Linked DNA regions of Homo sapiens: all the other regions are linked to region 2. Evidence: promoter capture Hi-C in 16 types of primary human blood cells and fetal thymus (Javierre and others, 2016). All regions are on one chromosome and are shown on one strand. Each heading gives the region's core, a stretch centred on a gene start or on the middle of the fragment in contact. The rest is flanking DNA. Distances are from core to core; before and after follow the strand shown.

Region 1 (3,371 bases), core at 707-3,206, 190 kb before region 2:
CACCACACAAGGCCTTCAAAAGATGTTCGAAGAAAGACCCAATATATCTCCTTGGCCTGGAGGTAAATTTTTATTCTTTGTGAAGTTTCTGGGGGAAAAAAACACCATAAAAAGCTAGCTGTTTAGCATCACAAATTCAAAACGGTTATAGTCACCAGATTTTAAATTTTTTACCTGATTGTTTGGGCACCCACAATGCCCAAGCCAAACATTTGTCTGGTTTTCTTTTGGGGGTAGCTGAAGAAATTGAGGTTTTTTCCCTTTTTGGCCTCTTCTTGACCTCCCCCTTCCCGGCTTAGTGCTACTTATAAGATGGCAAACCTTTCATTCTGAGTAATTGCTTAGCAGCGCCAGACACTACTGTTTCCCACAGTGTGTCTCCCCTGTCTCTGTGATTATGAGACAAAAAAGCGGGCGGCAGTGCTCAGGAAAGAGCTGGAAAATTAGGATCCCGAGAAGTGGCTGCCCAGCAACCCGAAGGTCTTGGAAGGCGCCAGATCCATTTCCTGCCTGAGCGTTTCCCTTTGCCCAGTCCCCAGAAAGAAACCCCATCTGTGCAGCTTTCTGCATCTCATTCCAATCCACGAAGGTTCTCATTACATTTTCAACATGAAACCTCAGCATTCAAACCTAATCATTTTAGGATGAAAATGAAAAGATAGCAAGGCCCCAGTCAACTGGAGCGATCGGGGGGCCCAGAGTTCCTAACGGAGCCATCTGCCTACCCTCTTCCCTCAGCAGTGAGGAATGGCCCCGAGGCTGGTTTAGACCACACCCTGCCTCTCCTGTCTTCCAGTCCCTGCTCACACCGCCCTCTGTGGGGTCCTGCCTGGAGAGCCCCCTCTCTTTTGTCAGCAGTCCTGATGGGAAACACAGGGGTTTAGAATCTTCAACAGGAAGCTGGCTGAGTCCTGGTCTCTTGGGATTTTTCCAAGAAAAGAACACAGGGAAGATGGCATTCTAACACGGCTCCAGGGCTCTGGCCGCCAAAGAAGTTTGTTCAGGGCTTACATTAAGAGGAATTTCATAGAACTAGGACACCAATAGGTTTTTAAATAAAATGTCTTTCTAGAGAGGGTTGGCCATAATGTGGGGAGACATGCCCTGAGCTTTTTTTGAGAGAAGCCCCCTCTAGACCCAGCCCAGTGGAATCCCAGCTGAAGTCCCCTGCAGAGGCAAAGGCCAGCTTTCAGCTCAGCACAGTGTGCTCGGGAGTTGAACAGTGGTCAAGCAGGTGTTACTTGGTCTAGAATTATCACGACCCTTGCTATTTGCATCATAGTGCACGCTCAACCTCATTTGCTTTTAGTCATTAGAAACCTTATTTCCCAAGGCATCAATTAGTGGAAAAGAGGGGCAGATTTCAGACATGGGAGCTGCAGGAGGTAACTGATCAGCCTGGTCTGCCTGGCCAGGGTACCAGGAAACTCAAGGGTAACCTTGCAAAGGCACTGGAGGAACGGGAGAAAGGTGGGTTAAGGGAAGCTTCCCCGCTGCTCCCAGGAGGCTGCCAGGGCCACCGGAAGTGGGAGTGCACCCCAACCTCAGAAAAGCAGAGCAGAGAGACCACCCTGCCATGCCAGCCCTGCGAGGGACCTGGCCATGGGGGAGGAACAATTCACTCTCAACAGAGGGTGAGGACACGAGAGCCTGTAAGTTGTTTCATGACATTTGCAGACTTGATTTGAACATTGTTTTGAGAATGGAAAGTTTTAAAATCATAGTGAAAAGAAGAATGGCTGTTCCCAAATCCTCCTTATCAGTGTCTGCTAAGCCACCGTGAGCAGATCTGCTCCTGCCCTCAGATCTGGACGTGGTCATGGTCATGGAGGACTCCTTGATCTGTTTCATCATTCCCACCAGAATCAGCCTGCGGGCTGTGAAAGGGCCTTCTCCAGGGGCTCCTCCAAGGAGAGCGAGCCCAGAAGGAAGCCCAAGTTGGAAGCAGCCGTGGGGATAAGCAGGAGCACCATTTATCTATCAGATCCCACCAGCTGTGAGTCTGGCTGAGCCGGGAGACCCTGACAGTCCCCCGCAAGAACATGGTGGCCGTGAGGAGTGGGCTGAATGTCTATATTCTCCTCATGCTAAGGGTTTTCAAACTGTAGATCACGAACCGTTTGTGGTTCATTGAGCGTGTGGTGATGAGCATTTACATAAGTGAATAAATAGAACAGAAAATAACCAAGTGGCTTTTCTGTAGTGAGGCTAGTGTTATTTCATAAAAACTTTATTTCAGTTGTGTGTTTGAATGTACTATGTATCTTAATCCATGACATAAAATGTAGTTCTTACTTTAGGCCAAGATCAGACAGGATTGAAATGGCCCTGTATTGCTAATGGGTTCCCCAGTGAATGTGGCTGAACAACCTTCATCCTGTATGAACCATGAGTGCCAAATTTAGAAAATATCAGACAATGATATGCTAAGCTTGTACAACAACCTTTTTGAACAAATGAAGGGAGAAAGATGACAACAGCCAGAACTTTGCTATTAGTGAAAACAGAAGAGTTTAAAAATTCAGAGCAGAGGAGATGTACTGGTGTCGTCCCACAGCTCCGCCAATGGTGTGGGGGAGCAGGTGTTCTCTCTCTGTTTACTTGAGGCCAGTATCAGTACTATTGTTCTATTGCTGGTCCTCTTGACAGTCTGCTTCCCAACCTTTCCAACCTCTCAATTAATTTAATTCTATTAATTTAATTCAATTAAAGTTGAATAAAATTTTAATTCAGGTGTTTGGTCACATAAGACCAGTGGCTACCACAGTGGACAGTGTAGTACAGAACATCACCACCAGTGCAGAGAGTTCCAGTGGACACAGCTGGTCTAGAGGTTTATACAAGGGGCTCTGTTGTCCCTCCAGAAGGTAGCCTATATCACTTCTGCCACATCCCATTGGCTGGAACCTAGTCCCTTAACCCCAACCTCACTGCTATACAAGTTGGGGTGTGTGGGAGAAGTTGGGAGAAGGCATCTTGAACACATCTCCCCGAATGCCAGAATGTCCAGACTTTCTTCAAACTGTTTCTAGCCCACACCTTTTGTTTAATGTTAGCATTTCCAACAAAATTCTGGAGTGATTTCAATCTCAGTTCCAGACATCAAGGTATAAAATTCTTTATCCTGGACTCCAATAAACTAATCAGCATAGTGTGAAAATAGTTTTGTCTCAGATGGGATTGAACCCTGCATGGGAGAGAGGAGGTGGCCCTTGGCCCCACCTTCAACCCACAATGTGCATCCTTGGCCAATCATCCCCCTTTGGCATTTCTTTTCCTAAGCCACAAACTGAGGCAATGGTTCTACTCTAGTCCATTCCTAACTCCCTTGCCAGTTGCAACCCTTCCTGTCTGTAGTCAAGTTAATTCTT
Region 2 (3,761 bases), core at 274-2,773:
AGCTGGTACATCTTATGATCCTCTGTATTAATGATGGAAAGATGATAATGATGGTGATAAAAATTAAGACACATCAAACAGCGTCAGCACTATCACATCAAAACACCCATGGATTTCTCAGGTTAAAAAAAAAAAAAGAAAAGTGGAAACTGTCAAATGTATTCTCATCTATTTTACTATTATACCGTTGCTAAGATCCAACTACTTTTGAAAGTCTAACACATAAGGAGTTGAATTATTGCATTGTTCAAAGGGGCAGAGAATTCTCTTGGGAAATCAGGCATTTATTTTAATCTTTTTTTTAAATGAAAAACACTAACGGTTGCGTCAAGAAATGTTCTCTAGACTCCACTGGGTCTCCTGTCTGCTCTTTATCCTAGTGTGGAGAAGAGGTGACATTAACCTTAGGAGGGGGAAAACTGCTGGAAGAGGGGAAGGGCTCAAGCAGGCCCTTGGCAGAGGAGGGACCTTCCAGGTAAATCAGATGGCCACTGCCTTGTACCCGCATTGGAGAACGAAGGACCCCAGGGGAAACTCTTCCTGCCTTTGGGTCTCAAACGCCCATGTAGTCCCCCCTCCCCCACAAGACCGCGAACACAAATAAAATCAGCTTTGATTGTGGTGATTCAATTTGCTCTGGAAGAGAAGAGGACTCGGCGAAGGGGCCTAAGTGCACGTTCTTAGACTGACAGGGAGCGTTTCTCGGAGATTTCTCCCGTTTCAACAAGTCATTTGCCTAGTGGAAGGGGGAGGAAAAAGTGAACGGGCTCCTGCCTCCTACACCGTGCCCTTCCCAGGTTGGGGCCTATGACAAGGTTCTCCGTGCTCCCCAGAGGAGCCAGGCACTGGGCCGGGGTAGGCGATTTGTAGTGAAGACCTGCACCGCACCCACGAGGGGGCCCAGCACTGACGCATCCTCACCCCCAGCAACCCTCCAGGACTCTCTCTTTGGTCTCCCCTCTCTCCCATGGCTGCGCGCTGGCACACACCCCGGCTCAGCAGGCCGCTTTGCTTGGATCCCACGCCAGGCCTCCAGCCTCGCCGCCCGCACCCCCTTTGAACACCTTTCCCCAGGGGAGTGGGCGGAGGCGGAAGGGTGACCCGCGCATTCTCTTTCCTTGCGGGCGGGGTGCGGGGCCAAAGGCTCCCACCCCCTCCAAGGAGGAAGCGCGCCCGGAATGGGGGACGGGGAGGAGAGAAAGGGGTGCGCAGAGCCAGAGGGAGGCAGAGGGGCCTGGAGGGAGGAGAGGAGGAGGGGAGGATGGAAGGGGTAGGAAGCTGGAAGAGGAGGGGTAGGCGAGAGAGGGGAAGGAGGGAAGCGGGAGGGGAGCGGGGGGAGGAGGGGCGCCCGGAGTGGGAGGAGGGGAGGCGTTGCCCGACGCGCCCTTTCAAGTCTCCGCGCTCCCCCCCGGCGGCGGCTGCCCGGGGGCGGTGGCTCGGCGTCGCCTCCCCCGACCGCCCCCTCCAGGGCCCCTCCTCCGTGCCGCGGCCAGGCTGCCCGGCCGGCGGCGCGCTGGAAATATGAAGAGACGCTGCAGCTGCGGTGGCGGTGGCGGCCACTGCAGCTCAGAGCGGCGCACGCGGCGGCCGGGGCGGGACGCGGGGCCGGGCGCGGAGAAGTCGGGGCGGGCGGCAGAGAGGCCGGGACGCGGACCGGGCCGGGGCGCCCACAGCCGCCCGACGGCGCCCAGAGAGCGCGCGCCCCGCAGCCCCGCGCCTAGCCCGCCGGGCATGGGGCGCGCGGCAGCCGCCTGAAGCCCCGGCCTGGCCCGGCCGCACCCGGCCGGAGGCGGAGGGCAGAGCGCGCGCCCAGTTGCCCGGGCACCAAATCGGAGCGCGGCGTGCGGGAGGCCCCAGAGCAGGACTGGAAATGTCCTGGCCGCGCCGCCTCCTGCTCAGATACCTGTTCCCGGCCCTCCTGCTTCACGGTGAGTTCCCGAGGGCCACTCGAGCGCTCCCAGCCGGCGGAGGCAGCCCGGGCGCCGCGGAGCCCGCGGAGGCGTCGGGTCTGGATCGCGGCACGGCCTACACTGTCCCCTTGGCGGGGCGGGTCCGAGGGGAGCCCCGCGCCTGCCGTCTCAGCCCTGGGAGAGGGGGCTCTGCCCACTTTCCGAGGCTTGGGACCGCTCTCCCCCAGGGCGCCCGGAGCTCTTTGCTGCGGGACTGTTCTTTTTGGAAGGGTGGAAGCTCTCCCACGCAGACACCTTTTATGTCCAGAATCCGTTGCATCCAGTCCGAGGGAAACTTTCGTCCGCTCTGCTGGATTTTCCAACTGTACACTGCCATGAAATCGCCGGCTCTGCGAGCCTTTTTCCAAAATGCCAGAATGCAGCAGGCTCTTGATGTGTTCCAAGCGTTTAGGAGAGTGGAAAGAGAAACTGATCATTTGGGAAAGACACGTCTGTCTGCCTTCTGAAAACTAGTGTTTGTTGTCTGCCTGCACTTTGCCTCGCGATTGAGGCGGGGTTGTGGGGTTTTCTCCCAAGTGGACTGTTGCGTTCTCTGGGTGTAATTTTAAGAAACAGGGGACCCCTATTAGCCAAGATTTAATCATTATTACCAGTCTCCCAATGTGCACCCCAACTTGACGTCCCATTTCCTGGGCTTCCAGTGCCACTTTTCCCCAGGGGTTCTAGTAAACCTTTAGCTAGAGAACATCAGCCCTTTCAGCGGGTTCCAGAAATTGCGCTGAAAACACCAAGACAGAATTTCTTTGGGGTGGACAAGGCAGGTTTTATGGCGCGTCGGGTTCATAATCCTGACAAGCCGTGGCAGATCACGTCGTGTTGATGTGGATGTCCTGAGCAAACTGTCCCTAATGGTCAGACACCTGACGTTTCAACAGCATGACTTCACGGCTCTCCTTCCTCAACACCCACCACAGCCACCCCAAACCTGTAGCGGGCTCCGGCTTCAGAATGCATGGTAGCCAGGACTGAAAGTCAGGCTGAGGACCTTCCCTCCGGAGGATCAAGGAAAGGGAAGAATTGTTAACCCACAAGCCACCGGGATGCTGTTTTCTTTGTAGTCCTGCCCCAGGTGGATGGCTCGCATAGCTCCACAGGCTTTGTGAACTTGTCTGGCTGGGCCAGACCTGTCCAGTTGCCAAGGTGTACTCAGAGCCCCAGTGATCCCAGAATTTTAACAGTCGGGATGGAAGGCTTGCAGAGGGCAAAAAGAGAGAAGGTATAATTATAGGGTTGGACTCCTAGGCCCATCTGCTTAGAATTACAGAGCAGTTTTAATCTTTGGCTGAAACATGAAACAAATCAGAGCCAATGAACAGATCAAACAGCAGCTGCCACACACACAAGAAACAAAAGAGAGAGATGAAACAGGAAACATTGTCCCCCTTAAAAAAATTGTTGTAATATCTGTGAAGAAAAAAGATAGTATGGTCAAATGATTTTAAAATTTAAAAAATTACTTAAAAAGTTGGCATGAACAGCATTTTTTGGGGTAAAATCATTGCCTTTTAAACTACAAAAGTGATCCTCAGAGATGCAACCTTGTACACAAGGTAACTCTGAACATGTTCTCCCTATTTTGAGAGGTAGGGGTTGTAATTATACTTCCTATTTAGCAGTCCAAGCTGGGGTAGTAATGGCTGACAGGTAACAAGAGCCCAAGTATATCCTCAATGAAGACAGGAGCTCCAAATCTCCTGAGTTTGAGAATTTGAGTCTGGAATCTTCCATAACTCCGGGGATCTGAGGGAGGAGGGCTCCCCAGACCCCATGGTGTTGGGAGGGGGATTGGGG
Region 3 (3,616 bases), core at 1,005-3,504, 240 kb before region 2:
CAAATCATGTAATTTCCCTAAGCTTTAGTCTCCCATCTGTAAAATGGGGAATAAGGAAACACATGTCATAAACTGTCTTAGTCCATTTTGTGTTACTATGATGAAATACTTAAGACTGGGTAATTTATAAAGAAAAGAGGATTGTTTTCCTCACAATTATGGTGGCTGGAAAGTTCCAGAGCATGATGCTGTTATCTGCTTGACTTCTGGTAAGGGCTGCTGTGCTAAGCAGAAAGGCAGGTGGACATGTTCAAAGAGGCACACACAAGAGGCTGGGCTTAACTTGTAACAACCCGCTGTTGGGAGCTAATCTAGTTCTGAAGGAGTGAGAACTCACTGACTTCTGTGAGGTAGTGTTAATCTACTCATAAGCGTGGTGCCCCATGACCCAAACACCTCCTACTAAGCCCCACCTCCCAACACTGCCATATTGAGGGTTAAATTTTAACATGAATTTCTAAGGGGAAACTCAAGTACAGTCATGAATTCCTTAATGATGGGGATATGTTCTGAGAAATGCATCATTAGTCTATTTCATCACTGTGTGAATATCGTAGAATGCACTTACACAAACCTACATAGTACAGCCAACTACCCACCTAGGCTTCAGGGTATGGCCCATTGGCCCTGGCTACAAATCTGTACAGCAGGTTACTATCTTGAATACTGCAGGCAGCAGGAACACAGTGGTAAATGTTTGTGTATCTAAACATACCTCAATATAGAAAAGATACAGTATGCATGTGGTATTATTATTTTATGGAACCACTGACATATATGTGATCTGTCATTGACCAAAATGTTGTTGTGTCGCACATGACTATATAATACCATGTAAAAGACTCTAGGTACCTTGCCTCGTTTTTACTTTCATTATTAACATAATTCTTGTCATCAATATCACTTAAATAGGTCATAAAACCAGTAAGGAAAAGATAAATCAGCGTATGTAAAGACAAATAAGTCAAAATATTACCAAAATAATATTCTTAATAAGACATAAAGGTGAAAGACAATGAAAATAAAAACAAGGTCTCCAAATGCGCATTATTTTCTGTAGTTCAAATAATAAGAGAAATCAAAAGGGTGAATCCTCTAATACAATAATCTCAATTTTTACCACACTCAGCCAAAAGGCTGAGAAGCGATTCTCAATTTTTACTGAGTTTATTTTCCAAAAGATGCAGTAAAGAACAATAATTTGCAATCCCCAAACCACCTACCAACAATGTCTTTAACAAAAAGTTTATTTTCTTTTTCTTTTGGCTTTTGGGAAGCAAATGTTTGAATATATAAGTAATATTATTTTTCTACAGCAGGAGAAAGAATGTTAATTGTCTGAATTGACCTATAACTGTATACACGTTGGGCATATGCATGTACACACACACATGCACACTCGCACGCACACATGCAAGCACACTCGCACGCGCATATGCACATATACATCCCTGATCTCCCTTCAGACTTGTCCGGACATGTTGACCACACAGTAACTCACTGTTCTGTACATACAGAAAGAAGTGGGACCACCAGGGCTTTTCAATCTTGTGCCAAAGGTGGGAAATATATGCCCCAATGAAAAGAAAAGAGAACAAGAAATATTTGGAAAAAACGCAAGAAACTAATTCATCAAAGGACTCCATCTAGCCCATCTTGCATACAGTAAACAGGTTTAGAAAACTCTATCTTGTCATATCTCAAACAATTATTTCAAGCTTCTATTTAATAAACATTTCCTGTTTGTACTTTAAATGTGTAACATCCCTACCCATTTCATCTGTCAGTCAAATTGCCAACATTTATTAAGTAACCTCAAAGTGCCTAAAACGATTATAACAAATAACTGTCAAGGAATGCAGAAGAAACACGACTTAGAGCCAGGCTCTGAGCTTCTGAGTTGAGAGTGGGGGCGGGAATGGGAGAAAGAGGTTGAGTTTAATTTATGAAAAGTTTCAAGATCCCTCCATACTAATGCATAGAGAGAAACACAGAAGACACAGGTAGCAGCGGCTTCCTTCATTAGATCATTTGATCATTTATTTAATGCCAATAGGCATTAAGACCAACCCGGAGTTTGGCCCTGTGAAGGGGAACACAGAGGCAGACAGGCAGATAACCGACTTCCTATTATGCAGTGTGGTAGGGCTCTACTTAATGAAAAGAACAAAGTACTAAGAGAGAAGACCTTTGGATTAATTCTGCCTGGGTGGGTACCAGAAGGCTTATACTGAATTTTCCAGTTGGTTGCTCATATAGTCTTGAATTTAGAGGATTTTTTTTTTAAAAAAAAACAAGCCCATTGCCTGATTTGTTATGGTTCAATACTCTTCCGGCAGAGTTAGTCCCACCTCCCCTAGGCAGCCCCCACACTTACTTCACGCCTCCATTATGGTGCAATTCTTTGTGTCTGTCTGCAGGGCTACCGCTGAAATCATGGGTTGTGCTTCATTCCTGTCTGCCTTCCCAGCACTGAGTACAAGGCATACAGTGGCTGTTTCTTACACATTTTTCTGTTTGAAGGAAGGAATGCCAGTGTGGAACTACTCCAGAAAAGAAGAGTCCTTAGGGTGGTCCCTTGAAGTGGGAATTCTTCCCCTCACCCTCTACCCCTACGCACACTTTCTTTTTGCTAAATGAAGGACAACCTAGATATTTGGAAGTCCTTGGGGCCAGAACGTGTGATACGATGAGTTGTCAGTTCCACATCTTTGCTGGGCAGGGATAGCTAGGGTAAGAGGAGAAATGAGTTGGATTCCAATGACAAAATGATGGCTCAGCAGAGAGTAACAAGCTTAACCAATGAATTACAATTGCAAGAGGGGTTTCCTATTATTTCACACTGTCATAAACCATTGATAGGCCCATTAAGAAGGCCTCAGCCCAATTGTTTAATTCTCAGTTCATGATCAGGATTCATTAAGAAGCCATCATTATATCATAAGCCAAGAGGCCATACTGTTGCTCTTCTGTTCTTATTCTTTTGTCTTTTCCTATCTAGGGCTCTAAACATTCTTCAGAAACACACAAACAAACAAAATGTAATGAAGTAAACAGCATTCAGTAAGGCACATAAAAAGATAAAAAAACAAACATGCCAGATTTCCTTTCGTAAAAACTGGTTTAGAAAGGTCCGATTTGAAAAACTCTTTGGGAACTATCATCACATGTCAGTAATCATTTCACTTTGTTTAACAGAGAAACAAAACACACTTTTGGTTTAATTAATAAAGCAGCATGGAAGAAAATGCTGAAGAGGAAGAAAGGTGATGATACAGACTCAGATCACGTTGTACTTTCTTTCTTTCTGCATAGTATGTCTGTCTTCTTTAATTATTCATCTGATGTAATCATAACAACTGTGTGTATGGAACCAATAAAAGATTTCCAAATATCTTCAGATCTGCAGTTTATTCTGAAGTCCAGATATCATTATCATTTGCTCTGTGCCTCTTTCTTCATGGAGTCAAACTTGTGTCTGGCACTTTCCAGACTTCTAGACACAATTAAACAATGGATGTCAGGAAAGGAAGGAGTGAGAATCTTCCACGTGTGTCTAACCTTCCCATGCTCACAGACAAAAACGTTAGTTTTCATCTTGGGCCAGGCCCTCAAC

Evidence for each region. The method cuts DNA at HindIII sites, captures the fragments that hold promoters and counts their contacts. A CHiCAGO score of 5 or more calls a contact.
Region 1: a contact is called between a fragment that was not itself captured here and the fragment with the promoter of APCDD1 in region 2, in 1 of 17 cell types (naive B cells). The highest score is 5.4, in naive B cells.
Region 3: a fragment that was not itself captured here is called in contact with the fragment with the promoter of APCDD1 in region 2 in 4 of 17 cell types (naive B cells, endothelial precursors, M2 macrophages and 1 more); the score reaches 6.3 in naive B cells.

What each region holds. Positions count from the first base shown.
Region 1 is chr18:10,262,328-10,265,698 of GRCh38, forward strand. No RefSeq gene overlaps it. Among named protein-coding and RNA genes, the nearest start is that of LINC01254, 150 kb to the right of the region's middle. The HindIII fragment of the contact is 946 bases long and covers 1,484-2,429 here.
Region 2 is chr18:10,453,112-10,456,872 of GRCh38, forward strand. APCDD1 (APC down-regulated 1) reads left to right here and starts at 1,524. Exons shown (of 5, transcript NM_153000.5): 1 at 1,524-1,928. The coding sequence starts at 1,871. The HindIII fragment of the contact is 7,093 bases long and covers 1-3,761 here.
Region 3 is chr18:10,208,078-10,211,693 of GRCh38, forward strand. No RefSeq gene overlaps it. Among named protein-coding and RNA genes, the nearest start is that of LINC01254, 200 kb to the right of the region's middle. The HindIII fragment of the contact is 1,076 bases long and covers 1,717-2,792 here.